3 separate regions of the Homo sapiens genome follow, and all the other regions are linked to region 1. The links are contacts of gene promoters, found by promoter capture Hi-C in blood cells and fetal thymus (Javierre and others, 2016). All regions are on one chromosome and are shown on one strand. Each heading gives the region's core, a stretch centred on a gene start or on the middle of the fragment in contact. The rest is flanking DNA. Distances are from core to core; before and after follow the strand shown.

The links. The method cuts DNA at HindIII sites, captures the fragments that hold promoters and counts their contacts. A CHiCAGO score of 5 or more calls a contact.
Region 2: a fragment that was not itself captured here is called in contact with the fragment with the promoter of TMEM71 in region 1 in 1 of 17 cell types (activated CD4 T cells); the score reaches 5.2 in activated CD4 T cells.
Region 3: a contact is called between a fragment that was not itself captured here and the fragment with the promoter of TMEM71 in region 1, in 1 of 17 cell types (activated CD4 T cells). The highest score is 6.7, in activated CD4 T cells.

Annotation. Positions count from the first base shown.
Region 1 is chr8:132,759,246-132,761,949 of GRCh38, forward strand. It overlaps TMEM71 (transmembrane protein 71), which reads right to left and starts at 1,337. Exons shown (of 10, transcript NM_001382403.1): 1 at 1,231-1,337. The HindIII fragment of the contact is 4,740 bases long and covers 1,119-2,704 here.
Region 2 is chr8:133,095,593-133,098,296 of GRCh38, forward strand. TG (thyroglobulin) reads left to right here. Exons shown (of 48, transcript NM_003235.5): 43 at 614-781. All of the region lies in intron 1 of SLA (Src like adaptor), which reads right to left. Among named protein-coding and RNA genes, the nearest start is that of SLA, 5.7 kb to the right of the region's middle. The HindIII fragment of the contact is 4,110 bases long and covers 1-2,704 here.
Region 3 is chr8:133,045,149-133,047,852 of GRCh38, forward strand. The region is part of intron 41 of TG (thyroglobulin); the gene reads left to right. It overlaps SLA (Src like adaptor), which reads right to left. Exons shown (of 9, transcript NM_001045556.3): 6 at 2,682-2,704. MIR7848 (microRNA 7848) reads right to left here and starts at 1,433; the gene lies at 1,333-1,433. The HindIII fragment of the contact is 6,246 bases long and covers 1-2,704 here.

The DNA.
Region 1 (2,704 bases), core at 87-2,586:
TCTTAATAAAATGACTGGTTCTAACAGTCATTTAGCCCCAAAACAAACTTACGTGTATTTTAATCATCTGACACAAGTCAACTTCATTATCAAGTTTCAAACAGTGCTTGGAGATTGGTGTCTGTCTTTTTCCCAACAACTTGAACCATTGACAGGTAGTCACAGAGAGTGATTTTAATAGTTTTTATCAGCCTGGACATTCCTAAACAGCATAAGTAATGTTGCACTAAAGATAGCATACCATTGGGAAGATTTTAGAACTTAGTTCCCATGAAGACATGATTTAATTTCTCAATTACTAATTAAAAACATATCAAAGTATGTAAATTATGCAAACTTTGATCATTTACTGTTCATCAAATAGAACCAACTTCTGTTGACTATGAAACTTTGTATATAGTATCACTATCCTAATCGCTTTATAAGGTAGGAGTAAATTATTTTCTGATTCACCACTTATGGCCACATTTTGTAACATGAGAACTAGTAATGGATTGTTTTTGTAGCTGTAATTCAATCAATCAAACCAGGCTAATTCTACAGCTTCAAGTTGAATATTTCAATAAATTATATATAAACCCTATTAGGAAAATATAAACCTGGTTTATAGAGACCTGTAAAGATGTCAGGAGAACTTTCTGGCCTTCCTTGGAAGATTTCTAAATCAAAGCACACATTTACAAATTTCATTTGTTTGGGATATAAAATAATCCCAGTGTAATGTAATATATTAGTATGTTACTTGTTCTTTTCATTTTTGATCAATATTGTACGGGTATGCCCAGCCCAAATTACCTTATTTTAGTGTTCCCCAAGTATTAAGCTTAATTTTAAGCCTATAAATCCTGCAGCAAAAGAAGGTCTTATTGCTCTATCTCACAAGTGCTTAGAAGAATCTACAGGCAGTACACTGACATTCAATAGAAAATTAGTAACAGTAGGAAAAAAAAAAGCCCTTCAGTTACAGATCTAAAACTTTTCAAGAAACAGAATCTGCCAGTTCCATCAAAGCGACACATCTATTCTGAAAAATAATGTGTGCATACGTGTTCCTTCCAAAGGGAGTTCCCAGCCTCTTCTTCCAATTGACAAAGGACAAAATTATTACTGAAATACGAAGCTTCCTGTGGTTGACAGTGGAAAAATTGAGGACTGAGCAGTTCCTCGGCTGAAAAATGTCTGAATGTCAACAGGTGCAGAAGTCTCTTAATAAAGGGAATCCCACCCTACCTTCTTCTCACAGATGCCCACGCACATTGCTGTGCACAGGTGCTTGCAGAGAAGTTTTGTCTTCGGCAGCCTCTTGTTCTCTTGTCTGTTTCCTGGTATAAATGAGTGTATAGTTCTTGGGAAAGTCAGTCTTACAACTTCTCTTGTTTTCTTTTGAAAACAGCCTGCGTAACCAGAGGCAAAGAAGCAGAATGAGGTCACACTTCCTGTTGGGCTCACATCAGTGGCATTCACACTGAGGAGTGTGCTGAAGATTTCAGAGAGTTTCCTGGGCCAGCAGCAGGGAATGTGCAGCCCATGTGTCAGGCCAGCTGGTTACACCCTGGTCACTGGAGGGGTGGTTTTCTGAGCTAACTTGTCACCTTTGGCTGCGAGAACGTGAGAAAGACTCAGCGAACTGACATTTCTTGCTCATCATATGGCCACATTCAGTTATAAGTAGTGCAGAGTAGTGATCTTTGTCCAAATCACTTAAATTTATTGAGGATAATGCACTGATGCTATTAAATTCAGAATACTATTAAATAGCAAGAGCTTGATCTTATGAAAATTTCTATAGAGGCAATAGGTTTATCTAATGAAGGTTGGACTTCACAAAAAACTCTATAGATGGCATTTTACATTTACATTATAGTAGAGCTCAAAGACTTGATGGTGTTTATGGGTTCATACACATCTGTACTACTGTAAGTGATAAAAGAAATGTACATTCAAATATATATTCCAGCAACATTGAGGTACCACTGCATAGTGGAAAGAGTGCGGATTCTGGGGTCACAAGACAGAAATTCAACCTGTCTACCATCCTAGCTGTGTGACCTCAGATTTGTGACTTACCCCTCTGAGTTGCAGTTTTCTCAATTATAAACATAAAAATATATATGTCATATGATGGCTTGAAGAATTAAATGAAATAAAAGAAATGAGAAATAATCGAGTCCTCAGCACAGATGTGCAAGGTGTATTCTTTATTTGTTTTCTTAAATCAAGTTCTCTTCTGAGGCACCAGTTGGTCCGGCTGGCGGAAAAGTTAATCTCATCCTTTCCTGGGGTTCCCTTTCCCCCTGAGGTTCTGCCACATGGCAGGATCTTCTGTAGAACATGTTCTAGGCAGCAGGAACTGTCAGGAGGAGGGCCCATCTAATTTCAAAGTTCTCTGTCTCTGGAACTTCATGTCTATTCTCCATCCCTTGAGTGTAGACTGAGGCTGCTGACATGCTCCTTGTAAATAAAGTAAGGCAAAGGTGCTGAGTTTCCACTACCATGATGAGGCTTCCATCTTGTTGGACTCTATTACTTTCTTGCTTGCCTGCTTTGATGAAGCAAGCTGCCATGGTGGAGAAGCCCATGTGTCAAGGAATCAAGAGTGGTCTCAAAAGCCAGTAAGGGTCTGATGCTCCATCCAACAGCCAGGAATCCAGCCAAAAACCAAGTGTGTGAGCTTGGAAGTGGATCCTTCTCCAGTTGAGCCTTG
Region 2 (2,704 bases), core at 151-2,650, 340 kb after region 1:
GACATGGCTTCACAGATGGCAGTGTATTTGAGTCACTTCACTCCCTTATATGGGATAGCTGTGTGTTCCCTTTATAGCATGCAAAGTTCTTGCTTGCAGACCAAATCTCTGGCTGGCCTTCACATTAATGAAGGGGACATTAGCAGGAATAATTGTCATGGCAATTGATGGCCTGATCGCCTTAGCAATGAGTCTGGACTCACAGAATTGGAGCAGGTCTTATTCTCAGCTCCCCTAAGTGCAGGCTAATTTGATCATAGCTGGAGCTGGTGAATTTCACCTGTCAGAGTCACTGCCTCCTCTTCAACCACTGTCTCCTCCTGCCTTCCTCACCCACCTACAGGCTCAGGCTTTCCCATCCCTACCTGGGGATCTGCTGTTACCTCTGGGATGCTCCCCTGGAGACCATCATTGCTGAGAGTGAGATTCATTCACCCTCCAGCCCCTGACTTTGTCACATGGTGTCCTGCCTGCCAGTTGTCCTGGTCACTTTTTCTCAGTAGAGTCATAGATGGATAACCAGTATTGGCATTCAGTATGGTTAAGACCTCTTTATGCAAAGCAGTGCAACTGATTATTCCAGGACAACTGATTATTGTTGCATCCAATGCAGCTCCTGGCCGTGAGTGGCCCTTTCCACTACTGGGGTCCTGTGATCGATGGCCACTTCCTCCGTGAGCCTCCAGCCAGAGCACTGAAGAGGTCTTTATGGGTAGAGGTCGATCTGCTCATTGGGAGTTCTCAGGACGACGGGCTCATCAACAGAGCAAAGGCTGTGAAGGTAAGCAGGGAGGGGGCCTCGGATGTCTCCAGCTGGGCATTTCCTAAGGGCTCTGGACCTCAATGTCTGACTTGATCAAGAGATATTGACCAATTGCTGAGTAACTACTGTGTGCAATGCCTATGTGAGTTTAGGAGGTGGTAATGGGGGGATTTAGAAATTAGACACTTGCAGGGTAGTGAGCAACACAGGCACATCCACAAATTACAGCTGTGAATGAATCGCTGTGGAAAACTGGAGCTGACCCAGAAGCTCTGCAGCTCAGGGCTGCAAGTTAGAATACCCACATTCTGGACCATGCCACCCATATTTCATGGAGGATGCTTGTTGTACTGAGAACTGAGAGATGATGAGGCAGGGAGATGAAGGGACTCTTGTTAAATCATCACCCTTTCCCAATCCTGAAAAAGACACTGAAGCACCAGGCTTCCAAGTTAAATTTCCTAGTAAAGAGAGCACGCACAATGCACCTGGCAAACACGCAGCTTTGTGTGGCTTGCTGGAGGCACAGTGAAGTGGGAGTGAGCTGGGAGGTCTTCAGTCTGCTTGAATGCACAGTTCCTGCTCTCGCCAGAAGTTACAGCCACTCACTAGGATGTGGCTAACCCTGGAAGAGGCTGAGCACATGCTCCTCTGCCCACCCCACCCTGCCTTGGACAAGCTACTCTTGGCCAAAGCCTTGTAGGTGGTCAAGCCTACAGGGAAGCCCAGTGTGCATAAAGCACAAAGAGAGGACAACTCTGGGCGTGGGTGGAGTGCACCTTCCCCTGCACATGCATGACATGGGTCTCTGTTGGCTCTGTTGAATATAAGGCAGTCTAACCGGAATTTTATTAAATCATGAAAGCAACCAAACAGGATCCTGAGTTCCTTTGGATAATCCTGTTTCCTTTGGGTAATATATTTCACCTTGGGGACTCTATCCTACAGCAATAAAAGCTCCAGTTTTACATGATATATATACAAGAGTATTTATTGCATTGCATTGTTTATTGATTGATTGTGGCATTGATTATTGTGGCAAAAAATTGGAAGCAACTCAAATGTCCATTAACAGGGAAATGGTTGACTAAATTAAGATACAAACAAGCTATTAAATATTATGCAGATATTAAAAAGAATGAGCTAGATTTATCTCTACTGGCTTAAGTGATGCCTCTGACACATTGTAAAATGACAAAAAACATGTAGAGGAATGTGAAATTAAGATAGCATTCATATTTTTAAAAACCAACCTGTATATATCTTTATATTTGTAAGTGTGTATATTTGTATGTTTTTCTGCATAGAAGGATAACTGAGTAAAAAGATTCACAACATGCAATTAACATTGGCTACCTCTGGAGATGTAGAGATGTGAGAAAGAATATTATGCATTATTACTATTGCTGTATATATATACACACATGCATAATGTGTTACATATTATATATATTTATGTGTGCGTGTGTATGTAGAGAGAGAGAAAGAAGCAGGGCTGGTGAGGTTTGCATGTGAAGTTGATTTCTGAAGGTTCCTATCTGGAAGGTGGGTGTGGCATGTGAGCAGCGATAGAGTTCTCTCTGAGGGTGTATGAGTGAGTGTGTGTGTGTTGCAAGGGGGGGTGTCAAGTAAAACTTAGTCACCCTCAGCTTGCATCTAGCTAACTCACAGCCAGGGCAAAATACCTTTTGTACCTGATCCATTTCAACATTTTTTCTGCCAAGCACTCACATACAGCATAGCCCTTACCCTGAGGGGCTGAGATTTTATTATTGGACAAGACAACCATTCAGGAATCACTGGAAATGTGCCACTCTCCTCCACTGCCTCAGAGTTTGTAGTCTCTAAAACAGGGATCCTCAAGTTGCTTCTGATCAAGCCCCTCATCAGTTAAGAAATAGTAAGTTTAGTTATTTAAGTATAAATTATATACATGTGTAC
Region 3 (2,704 bases), core at 1-2,500, 290 kb after region 1:
ACCTGTCCTCACCCCAAGGCACCCAGCTAACCAGCCCACCACCACTGAGGCAGGGAGACCTGCCCACCCTTGGGATACAACAGTGATGCTAGGATGCAGCCCCTCCCTCCACTAGACCCTTCTCTGTTTAGATGTTGCTTCCCGTTAGAGACTGCAGAAGTGTATTATTGTGTCAAAGCAGATATGTTCATCACATGGTCCTTACAGGTTTTCAGGAACACAGGTTTCATCCTCTTTGCTTTTTTTTTTTTTTTTTTTTTTTTTGAGTCTGGGTCTTGCTCTGTCACCCAGACTGGAGTGCAGTGGTGCCATCTCAGCTCACTGCAACCTCCATCTCCTGGGCTCAAGGGATCCTCCCACCTCAGCCTCCAGAGTAGCTGGGACTACAGGCATGCGCCACCACGCCCAGTTAATTCTTTTATTTTTTGTAGAGGTGCAGTGTTGCTACATTGCCCAGGCTGATCTCGAACTCCTGGACTCAAGTGATCCGCCCACCTCGGCCTCCCAAAGTGCTGGGATTACAGGCCTGAGCTACCATGCCGGGCCTCATCCTCTTTGCTTTTTGAGGCAAACACATTTGGGGTGCTTCCACATCCTGAGGCCAAATGGAATGATTGTAGTTTGGTTGCAACCTGTAGCTCCAGGATCCATGGTCGTTTTTGGACTCCTTCCCGAGTACTCTCCAAGATGTGATCCCTACTGTTTTGCTCTTTCAGCCCCTGTCCCACCAATGCTGCCACAGCACACATTTGAGGGGGTCCTTGCAGTTATGCCCCCTTTTCCTTTGTCTATACTCTCTCTGACTTATGCTTAGTCTTCTCAGAAATCTGGAGAAGCTGAGTCATCTTTCTGGGTATCCGTAAGAACCACGTGAAAGGCGGGTTATTGCTCCTTAAGCCTCGTTAGAGCAATGACCTGATATGGGTTGGTAAGAGTAGAACCGCAGCCATGTGCCTCGATTTCCTCAAATGCAAAATGAAAGAATTGGATGTAGGCCATGTTTCAGGGTCCTCTCTTGCTCTGGGGTTCCAGGAGTAGAAAACACCCAAGAGACAGAGGAGAAAGGGAGCTGATTGATTATTTGCTATCTCTGCTGGGCAGGGCTAAGCAATTGCCATGAAATCTCTATTAATTCTCAGAAAGATCATAGGAGGTATTGCCCCCAATTATTTTAAAGATGGGAAAACAGAGGCCTAGAGCCCCTATGGGATATGGCCAGAGGCATGGGGCTTGGAAATGCCACCCTGGGGTGTGACCCTTGTCCTCACACATCCCTCACAGTGCTCTAGGCCTGCCGTGAGTCAACCCAGCATGAGCCTTCCCGTAAGGTCAGCAGAACTGGGAGTGTGGTAAGCAGACCGAGGGTAGCAAGTGAAACACTGTCAGAGCTTTGCATACCCAAGGTGGGCCTGCCACACCCACCCAGCCCCAGCACAATGGCACATCTGCCTGATGACATCGTTATTTTTAGATGAGTTACGACACCCACCCTGGGTTCTTCCTCCCTTTGGCCAGGCCAGCTTAGGAGTTTCTTTCTGAGTCGGGGCATCCTGCCTCCGGGGACCTCTAGGACAGGCACAGGATGTTTTGCTTTTGCATTGATCTTTCTGTACCCCAGCATATTTGGGTTTTTTAGAGAAAAGTTGATCGCAGATTTTTTTTAAATCATATATATGTGGTCCCTGCTTTCTGAAAGCAAGGCTGATGCTCATTTTGGTGAAGGGCTCTAGCACCAGGTGGCTTTGGCACTTATTAGGTGCATGGGAAGTACTCTCAGATAGTGTGTTTTCTCTTCTTTGATATTGAATGTACAAGAAGCAAGCCAAGAACTTGAAGATACCTTCTGAATTTTAAAAAAGTTATTATTATTATTCAGTCTGGGAAAACCCTAGCTGTTAAGTATTTGGGGATAAACATGGTACTCTCCTACTGTAAATCTCATGGTCTAGATCAGGGAGCTGAGGCTTAGAGAGAGAGAAGCAGTAAATTAGTAATTTGTAAGGCTAAAATTGGAACTTGGGACCCTTGCTTTGCATCATGACAAAGAGCTCACTCTATTTGTGTTTTTACTGTGGTACTTAATGCATATGATGCAAGGAAATTGTAATGCTAGTGATGATGGTGACTGTGTGAGAGGACACATGTGATTCTCGGAGCTGTCTGATTTAGTTACGGAGCACAGAGGAAACTGATATCGGGACTGTCTGTGCAGCAAGAGCAACACAAATACTATGACATTTGAATCTCACCACACCCTTACAAGGGAGAGGTGTTCTCTCCATTTCACAGATGAGAAAACTGAGTTCAGACAAATCAGTCACAGAGCTTGAGAGCACAGCCCAGGCCCATACCAAAGGCCACATTCTATCTGCACAGCATGCTGCCTACACACTGCGTTCAGTTTTGTTCTCAGTTGCTGGAAAAATTTCCAGCAGGAGTCATCAGGCCTGATGTTGGCCAGGCCCGTGGCAGTGCCCAGCCGGCTCCCCACTGCCTGTCTCTAGTCCCCTTGCTTCCCCACTGGCCTCCCCAGCAGCGTGTGGGCTGCAGGGAGCTTAACTACATTGGATCAATTTGCATGGACGTAGGAGGAAGGAAAATGAAGCCGTGTAATGAGTCAGCCAGGAGCAAAACATGCTTGTCTGCCCCGGATGGGGAAAGATGAGTTGGGGGCCACTCACCTTTCTTGGTCTCACTCTCTCTG